Regions from separate parts of the Homo sapiens genome. Here region 1 is linked to region 2. Evidence: promoter capture Hi-C in human tissues and cell types (Jung and others, 2019). All regions are on one chromosome and are shown on one strand. The core of a region is centred on a gene start or on the middle of the fragment in contact, and the rest is flanking DNA. Distances in the headings are between cores, read along the strand shown. Region 1 has its middle 73 kb from the start of NBPF3. Region 2 holds the start of EIF4G3 (eukaryotic translation initiation factor 4 gamma 3).

Region 1 (4,531 bases), core at 329-2,828, 190 kb before region 2:
TGCAAATGTGATCATTTAAATTCACTATGACTCTGAGAGAGAAGGGTTATTCTCCCCACAACACAGGTAAGTGAGCCAATTCAGGCTCACCAGGGTCACAGGACTTATCCAAGTCACTGGATTGACAGGATGAACACTGGCTTCAAGCCCAGGCTTCTCTCTCTGTTCCTCCTACTATAACCAACTGCAGTCCACATATTTTTAGTGAGCACCTACTCAGTGCCAAGCACTGTGCTAGGTGCTGGGGAGGCAGCATGCATCAGCAGACACACCCCTTCCCTCCTGGTGCCCACATCACTGCCGGAGGAGACAGGAAACAGACGTGGAGACCGGCACAGTAATAATCAGAATCCCAGTATCAACCTCAGAAGCTTAGCAAAGTGTCACAGGGCTCCATCCCTGGCGTTCCCCTGTCTCCAGGCTTCTGGAAGTTTCTTCTGCTCCTTCACCCTTCATTCACCAGGGTTTCCCTAGCTCTCTAATAATCCCCATTCCCAGGCCTCCCACCTTGACCACATTCCCAAGTCTTCACTTTAGATCGCCACCAGGGGACAGCCGTGCACCGTGGCAGGTGGCTCCTCCTGCCAGCCCAGCTTGGGCCAGAGTTTCCACCAGAATCACAGACCGTGGGAAAGGAGAGGGGAGGAGAAAGGAAGAAAGGAAGGAAGGGAGGGGACTAAAGGGTGAACCAGGCTTCCCAGCGGGGGTGTCTTAGGGAATCAGCTCTGTCCAGACCTAGGGCAGTTTCTCAACTGTTTTCCCTCCTTATCTTCCTTCCACTTTATCTTCTCCTCGTTCATTCAATAAACTTTTTTTTTTTTTGAGATGGAGTCTTGCTCTGTTGCCCAGGCTGGAGTGCAGCAGCGCGACCTCAGCTCACTGCCACCTCCGTCTCCAGGGGTCACGCAATTCCCCTGCTTCAGATTCCCAAGTAGCTAGGATTACAGGCACGCACCACCACACCCGGCTAAGTTTTGTATTTTTAGTAGAGCTGGGGTTTCGCCATATTGGCCAGGCTGGTCTCGAATTCCCGACTTCAGGTGATCCGCCCAGCTCTCAGCTTCCCAAAGTGCTAGGATTACAGGTGTGAGCCACTGCGCCCAGCCCATTCAATAAACTTTTTAAAAGGCTTTGTTGAGATATAATGTATATGTCATAAAAGTTCACTCATTTAGAATGTACAATACAATGATTTCTTTTTTTTTTTTTTTTCTTTTTTGAGACAGAGTCTCGCTCTGTCGCCCAGGCTGGAGTGCAGTGGCACGATCTCGGTTCACTGCAAGCTCCGCCTCCCGGGTACACGCCATTCTCCTGCCTCAGCCTCCCGAGTAGCTGGGACTACAGGCGCCCGCTACCGCGCCCGGCAAATTTTTTTTTGTATTTTCAGTAGAGACGGGGTTTCGCCGTGTTAGCCAGGATGGTGTCGATCTCCTGACCTTGTGATCCACCCAGCTCAGCCTCCCAAAGTGCTGGGATTACAGGCGTGAGCCACTGCGCCCGGCCTAATACAATGATTTCTAGTATGTAGAGAGATTTATACAACCATTACTGTAACCCAATTTCAGGACATTTTTACCCCAAAAGAAACCTCGTACCCATTGGCAGTCACTCCCAGGCCTAGGCAGGTACTCCTCTCCTTTCTGTCTGTATAGATTTGCCTATTCTTGACATTTCGTATAAATAGGATAATGCAAAATGTAAACTTTTGTGACTGGTTTCTTTCACTTAGTATGTTTTCCAGGTTCATCCATGTTGTAGCATGTATATGTATTTCACTCCTTTTTATGGTTGAATAATATTCTAATGTGTGGATAGACCACATCTTGTTTCTCCATTAATCAGCGGATGGACATTTGGGTTGTTTCCACGTTAGGCTATTATGAATAATGCTGCTGTAAACATTTGTGTACAAGATGTTTTGTTTTGGATTTTTTTTTTTGAAACAGGGTCTCAGTCTGTCACCCAGGCTAGATTGCAGTGACACAATCATAGCTCACTGCAGCCTCGACCTCCTGGGTTCAAGCTATGCTCCCCCCTCAGCCTCCCATGTAGCTAGGATGACAGGCATTCGCCATCACACCCAGTTAACTTTATTTTTGTAGAGATGGGGTCTTGCTATGTTGCCCAGGCTGGTCTCAAACTCCTAGGATCAAGTGATCCTACCACGTCGGCCCCCCAAAGTGCTGAGATTAGAGGCATAACAAGGCTTTTAAAAAATACAGTTACAGGCCGAGCGTGGTGGCTCACACCTGTCATCCCAGCACTTTGGGAGGCCGAGGCGGGTGGATCACCTGAGGCCAGGAGTTTGAGACTAGCCTGGCCAACATGGGGAAACCCCATCTCTACTAAAAATACAAAAATTAGCTGGACGTGGTGGTGGGCACCTGTAATCCCAGCTACTTGGGAAGCTGAGGAAGGAGAATCGCTTGAACCTGGGAGGCGGAGGTTGTGGTGAGCTGAGATTGCGCCACTGCACTCCAGCCTGGGCGACAACGGCAAAACTTTGTCTCAAAAAAAAAAAATACAGATATAATTCACATACAATAAAACTTAGTGAACCGAGTCAGTGGTTCTTAATGTATTCAGAAAGTTGTGCAGCCATCACTATTATCTAATTCCAGAACATTTCATCATCTCCCTGAAACTTATGCTCATTAGCAGTCATTCCCCATCCGTCCTCCCTCCAGTACCTGGCAACCACAAATGTACTTTCTGCCTCTATGTATTTGCCTATTGTGACATTTCACACACATGAAATCATACAATATGCGACCTTTGTGTCTGGCTTCTTTTATTTGGTATAATGATTTTTAAGCTTGTACATGTCATAGCATGTCAGTGCCTCATTCCTTTTTGTTGCTGAATAATATTGCATTATAATGATGTACAACTTTCTTATTTTTTATAATTTGAGACAGTCTTGCTTTATTAATCAGGCTGGCATGCAGTGGAATCATCATGGCTCACTGCAGCCTCTAACTCCTGGGCTCAAGCAGTCCTCCCATCTCAGCTTCCCAAGTAGCTGGGACCATAGGTATCCACCATCGTACCCAGCTAATTCTTTGAAAGTAGAGATGGGGGGCCGGGCACAGTGGCTCATGCCTGTAATCCCAGCACTTTGGGAGGCCAAGGCGGGTGGATCACAAGGTCAGGAGATCGAGACCATCCTGGCTAACACAGTGAAACCCCATCTCTACTAAAAAAACAAAAAATTAGCTGGGCGTTGTGGCAGGTGCCATAGTCCCAGCTACTCGGGAGGCTGAGGCAGGAGAATGGCATGAACCCGGGAGGCGGAGCTTGCAGTGAGCCGAGATCGTGCCACTGCACTCCAGCCTGGGCGACAGAGCGTGACTCCATCTCAAAAAAAAAGTAGAGATGGGATCTCTCTATGTTGCCCAGGCTGTTCTGAAACTCCTGAACTCAAGTGATCCTCCCACCTGCGGCCTCCCAAAGTGCTGGGATTACAGCCATGAACCACCATCCCCAGCCAGCATTTATTTATTTATTTATTTATTTATTTATTTATTTAGAGACAGGGTCTTGCTCTGTTGACCAGGCTAGAGTGCAGTGGCATAAACAAAGCTTACTGCAACCTCCACCTCCCAGGTTCAAGCAATTCTCGTGCCTCAGCCTCCCGAGTAGTTGGGACTACAGGCATGCACCACCATGCCCAGCTAATTTTTGTATATTTTGTGAAGACAGGATTTCGTTGTGTTGCCCAGGTTGGCCTTGAAATCCTGAGCTCAAGCAATCCTCATGCTTCTGCCTCCCAAAGTGGCTGGGATGACAGGCATGAGCCACTGTGCATGGCCATGTACAACATTTCATGTACATATTTGTCAACTGATAGATATTTGGGTTATTTCTACTTTTTGGCTATTATGAATAGTGCTGCTTGATCATACATGAACATGTTTTGTGTGGACATAGTTTCATTTCTCTTGGGTATATACCTAGGAGTGGAACTGCTAGGTCACATGGTAACTCTGTTTAACTTTTTGAGGAACTGACAAACTCAAAGTGTCTGCCTCATTTTCCATTACCACCAGCAATATATAAACATTTTAATTGCTCCATCTCCTTACCTTTTTGATTATAGCCATTCTAGTGGGTGTGAAGTGGTATCCCATTGTTGACTCAGCAAGCTTTTACTGAGCACCTACTATGTGCCAGGCTCCATTCTAGTGCTGGAGACTTAGCTGTGACCAGGACAGAGATGACCTATGCCTTCATGGGGACTCAAGATCTACGATAGATTGAGACATTAAAGGAGTAACAAATACAAAGATAAGACAAGTTCAGGAAGTGGTAAGAGCTAGGAAGACTTGAAACAGCGTAATGCATTGGTGGTGGGGGGTGTAATGCAGGGGGTCAGGGGAAAGGGTCCCTCTGGGGAGGTGACATTGTGATGAAACTTCACAGGTCAGGAAGAGCCACCTGCTGAGCCATGGAGGAAGAGCATCCCAGGTACAAGGAGCAGCAAGGGCAAAGGCCCTGAAACCCGATGACTCCTGTGTTCCAGGAACATCCA
Region 2 (3,949 bases), core at 1,317-3,816:
CTAGTGTAAATGAGAAGTCAAATAATTTCCTTGGAACAGGTTTTGATTGGGATAAGGATGCCTGAGATTCCAGAAAATGAAAGGAGAATCTGGGGAACTGAAGGACCACTAGGGAATTCTTCCTGGAGTCAATTATATGTGGAGAGGAGCAGAAAATCCCATCCTAAATAATCAGGTGTTACAGGCCGGGCATGGTGGCTCACGCCTGTAATCCCAGCACTTTGGGAGGCCAAGGCGGGCGGATCACGAGGTCAGGAGATCGAGGCCATCCTGGCCAACACAGTGAAACCCCATCTCTACCAAAAATACAAAAAGAGAAAAAAAATCAGCCGGGCACGGTGGCAGGTGCCTGTAGTCCCAGCTACTTGGGAGACTGAGGCAGGAGAATGGCGTGAACCCAGGAGGCAGAACTTGCAGCGAGCCAAGATTGCGCCACTGCACTCCAGCCTGGGCGACAGAACGAGACTGTCTCAAAAAAAAAAATAAATAAATAAAAAAATCAGGTGTTACAAATCCAGACAGTTTAAGATGCCACAGTATGAAGTAGCTGCTGTCTTCCAGTCTGGAGATGGGGATGAGGCATCCTTTTCAATGTCAGAAACTGTGGAGCTCTAGCTAGAAAGACGCCGTAGGGGGGTTGTGGTATCACTCTCTTTCAGATGCTCTTTTATCCTAGAAGGAGCATTTGGGGCTCCCAGGGATTGTCACGAATTAAGCATCCACTATGTGTAGAGCTTTATATGAATTAAAAACAACAATAGGCCAGGCGCGGTGGCTCACGCCTGTAATCCCAGCACTTTGGGAGGCCGAGGCAGGCAGATCACCTGAGGTTGGGAGTTTGAGACCAGACTGACCAACATGGAGAATCACCGTCTCTACTAAAAGTACAAAATTAGCCAGGCGTGGTAGCGCATGCCTCTAATCCCAGCTACTCGGGAGGCTGAGGCAAGAGAATCGCTTGAACATGGGAGGCGGAGGTTTCCGTGAGCCGAGATCGTGCCATTGCACTCCAGCCTGGGCAACAAGAGCGAAACTCCGTCTCAAAAAACAGCAACAACAAAATAGTAAGGCAGTGTGTGAAGCAGGATAGCAGGAGTCAGAACTAGACTCTAATCTTAGCTCTGCCAGCCACACTGTCGGTGCGACCTCGGGGAAGTCTTTTGTGCGTTTTGAGCCTCAATTTTCTCAGCTTTTCTGTGGTTTGATGGTATTGAGCCTCCCCAGTCTCAGTTTATTCATTTGTAAAATGGATACTACCTATTTCACAGGACTGCTTGAGATAATGAAGGGTACAGCGCTTAGTGCCATGTCTGGTAAATATTATATTAAAACTTGATTGCTCCATGACGCCTGCCATTTTTTTTTTTTTTTTGAGACGAAGCCTCACTCTGTCGCGCCCAGGCTAGTGTGCAATGGCACTCTCTCAGCTCACTGCAACCTCCGCCTCCTGGGTTCAAGTGATTCTCCCGCCTCAGCCTCCCGAGTAGCTGGTGCCTGCCACCACGCCTGGCTAATTTTTGTATTTTTAGTAGAGACGAGGTTTCATCATGTTGGCAAGGCTGGTCTTGAACTCCTGACCTCAAGTGATCCACCGGCCTTGGCCTCCCAAAGTGCTGGGATTACAGGCGTGAGCCACCGCGCCCGGCCGATGCCTGCCATTCTTTCCCACTCAATGCCACTGTGCTTAGGACAAGGCACCTGCTAAGGAGTGGGGTGTGCGGGGTTGGGGGTGGGAGTGATCTTGGCAGGTCTAGCTGGGAAGAAAATCCTTATCAACAAATGTCACCCAGCATAGGACATTGGGGAGCTGATCACTGGCTGCTGGTCAAAGGGCGCTCCAGTCCTGGGGAAGGCCTAGGTTTGAATCCATCCACAGAGCTCAGTTAAGGCTGCTGATTAGATATGGCGGCTCAGGTCATGTCCCCAGCCAATATGGGAGGCGGCAAGGTTCATCCAGATGAAGGTGGCATTTAGATTTAGGCTCTGTCCTTTCCCGATAGGGTGACCTTGGGCTAGTCACTTTTCCTCTGTGTCCTCTGGAAATGGGGCTCCTCATTCACCTCTCAGAGCGTCTGAGGAAGTGTCGACACAATGGGTGTGAAATGCGTGGGTTACAGGCCGGCGGGTGGCATTGGTTACGCGAAGTCCCCGCGGGGGGTCCCTATCCAACGGGTTCCATTCCGGTTAAGCGGTTCCTTCTCCAGGGGTTTTTCGCCTCGCCGCTGCCTCTCCGCCCCTGCGAGCGGGGCTCAGCGAACAGCCGACTCCGGGGCCATTACCATTGTTCTTCGAGGCTGGGCCGCAGGGGAGGACTCTCGCAAGCCAGACCTCGCCTTTGGTCTTTCCCTCCGCCCCGCACCCGCGCCGCTGTAAGCCAGCGAAGCCTCCCTCGCCGATCTTTGCCGAGGAAGCGAGTTAGCCCCTGAGCCCTCCCGAACGGCGGCCGAGGACGCACCCGAGCGTCTCCGAAGAATCCCGACCCCTAGCAGTCTCCGGAAAGAGCCGAAGAGGCTTCCCACCCTCGGTTTCCCGAGCCATTCCGAAAAAGTCCGAAGTTTTCCGAGCAGCCGTCCTGCCGGACTGCTGGAGGCGGCCACAGCGCCATGTTGGATGCTCTGCTCGTTGAGTGAAGAAAATCCACCGGCATCGCCTGAGCCCCGCTACCGAGAAGGGCGCCGCTTCCTCCGGGGAGGGGGATAAAGATCCCCCGCCGCCGGCCCATGAGGATATTGCCGTGAAAGGTCCGGTCTCTCCGCCTCCTGCCCCCGCCGGGTCCGGCCCCCCCCCTGGGGTCGCGTTGTCACGGAGACCGGCAGCCGGTGGTGCTGGCCCGCGGGGCGGCTGCTGCTGCCGGCGGCGGCGGCGGCGGAGGCGGCGGCGGCGGCGGCGGCGGCGTCGGGCGTGTGTGACCGGCCCCGGCCCCCTCCTCCTCCTCCCCCCAGGCTCCCCCCAGCCCCCCGCTCCCGCCGCCTCCCCGGGTCTGCCCCCATCCCGCCCCCCCGCTGCCCCCGGCCCCTGCACCCCGGCGCGCCCGGTCCCGCTCTGGGGGGGTTGGTGGCTTCGCTTTGCCATGAGTTTACCGCAGAAACCGGCTCTGAAATCAGGCACAGCGACTGCAGCAGGAACCGGACCCGGCACCGGAGCGGCGGCGGCGGCGGCAGCAGCGGTACCGCCTCCTCACCCGGCGGCGGCAGCAGCGGCGGCGGCGGCGGCGGCGGCGGCGGCGGCGGCAGCGGTCCCCCCTCCTCACCCGAACATCAGGGCCCTCCAGACTCAGGCGCCCCAACAGTATCCTTTTCACCTTCCTGTCGGCCCTTCGGTTCTCGTCGTCGCAGTCCAGGGGGACCCCGCAGCCCAGGGGACCCTCCTGCCGGCCGCCACAGCCCAGCCAGGAAAGGGACAGCGGCTCAAGCCCCTGCATCGGGCTTGGGCGGAGCTTTTGGGGTGCCCCGGCAGCAGCACTGCGGGGGGACCCCCAGACCCTCTGCAATACTGTGAAAGCTAGCCCCACTTGGCCATGCTTCTGCAGCCCCTTCCTTTTAGAGCTTGGGGTCCCTTCTCCCCTCCTCCCCTAAGGTACCCTCCCCCCCTTTATTGGGCAGAATTTGCTTGGTGCCTGGGACCAACCCTGCAGGGAAGGCTTTTCTCTGGTTGTTGTGAGGATTACACCCTCCTGCTCTTCACCTCCCCTCGGCTCCCCCTACAGCGGGACACAGTGGGCTTCCATAATTATTATTAGTACATAATAAACTTTATCGGTAAATTTCTTGTTTGAAACCAATCAGCTCGTTTCCGAGGTATGTTGGATTTTCAGTCTAAGGTGAAAATGTACAGAAAGCAGTTCCTCTGGATAATTTTTTTTAGTAATGGGAGAGTTGTGATGTGGTTTGTGGTAGAGATCTGAGGAGGAAATGTGACGCCGGACGCTTCCCTGTCTTTGACCTTTTTA

What was found. Contacts are between HindIII fragments. The study calls those that stand out against the background at their distance.
Region 1: a contact is called between a fragment that was not itself captured here and the fragment with the promoter of EIF4G3 in region 2, in 2 of the 25 tissues and cell types used here (dorsolateral prefrontal cortex and mesenchymal stem cells).

The regions. Positions count from the first base shown.
Region 1 is chr1:21,364,688-21,369,218 of GRCh38, reverse strand. No RefSeq gene overlaps it. Among named protein-coding and RNA genes, the nearest start is that of NBPF3, 73 kb to the left of the region's middle. The HindIII fragment of the contact is 6,019 bases long and covers 1-4,531 here.
Region 2 is chr1:21,175,514-21,179,462 of GRCh38, reverse strand. It overlaps EIF4G3 (eukaryotic translation initiation factor 4 gamma 3), which reads left to right and starts at 2,566. Exons shown (of 37, transcript NM_001391906.1): 1 at 2,566-2,741; 2 at 3,105-3,288. RefSeq lists an enhancer at 2,602-2,651. The HindIII fragment of the contact is 22,917 bases long and covers 1-3,949 here.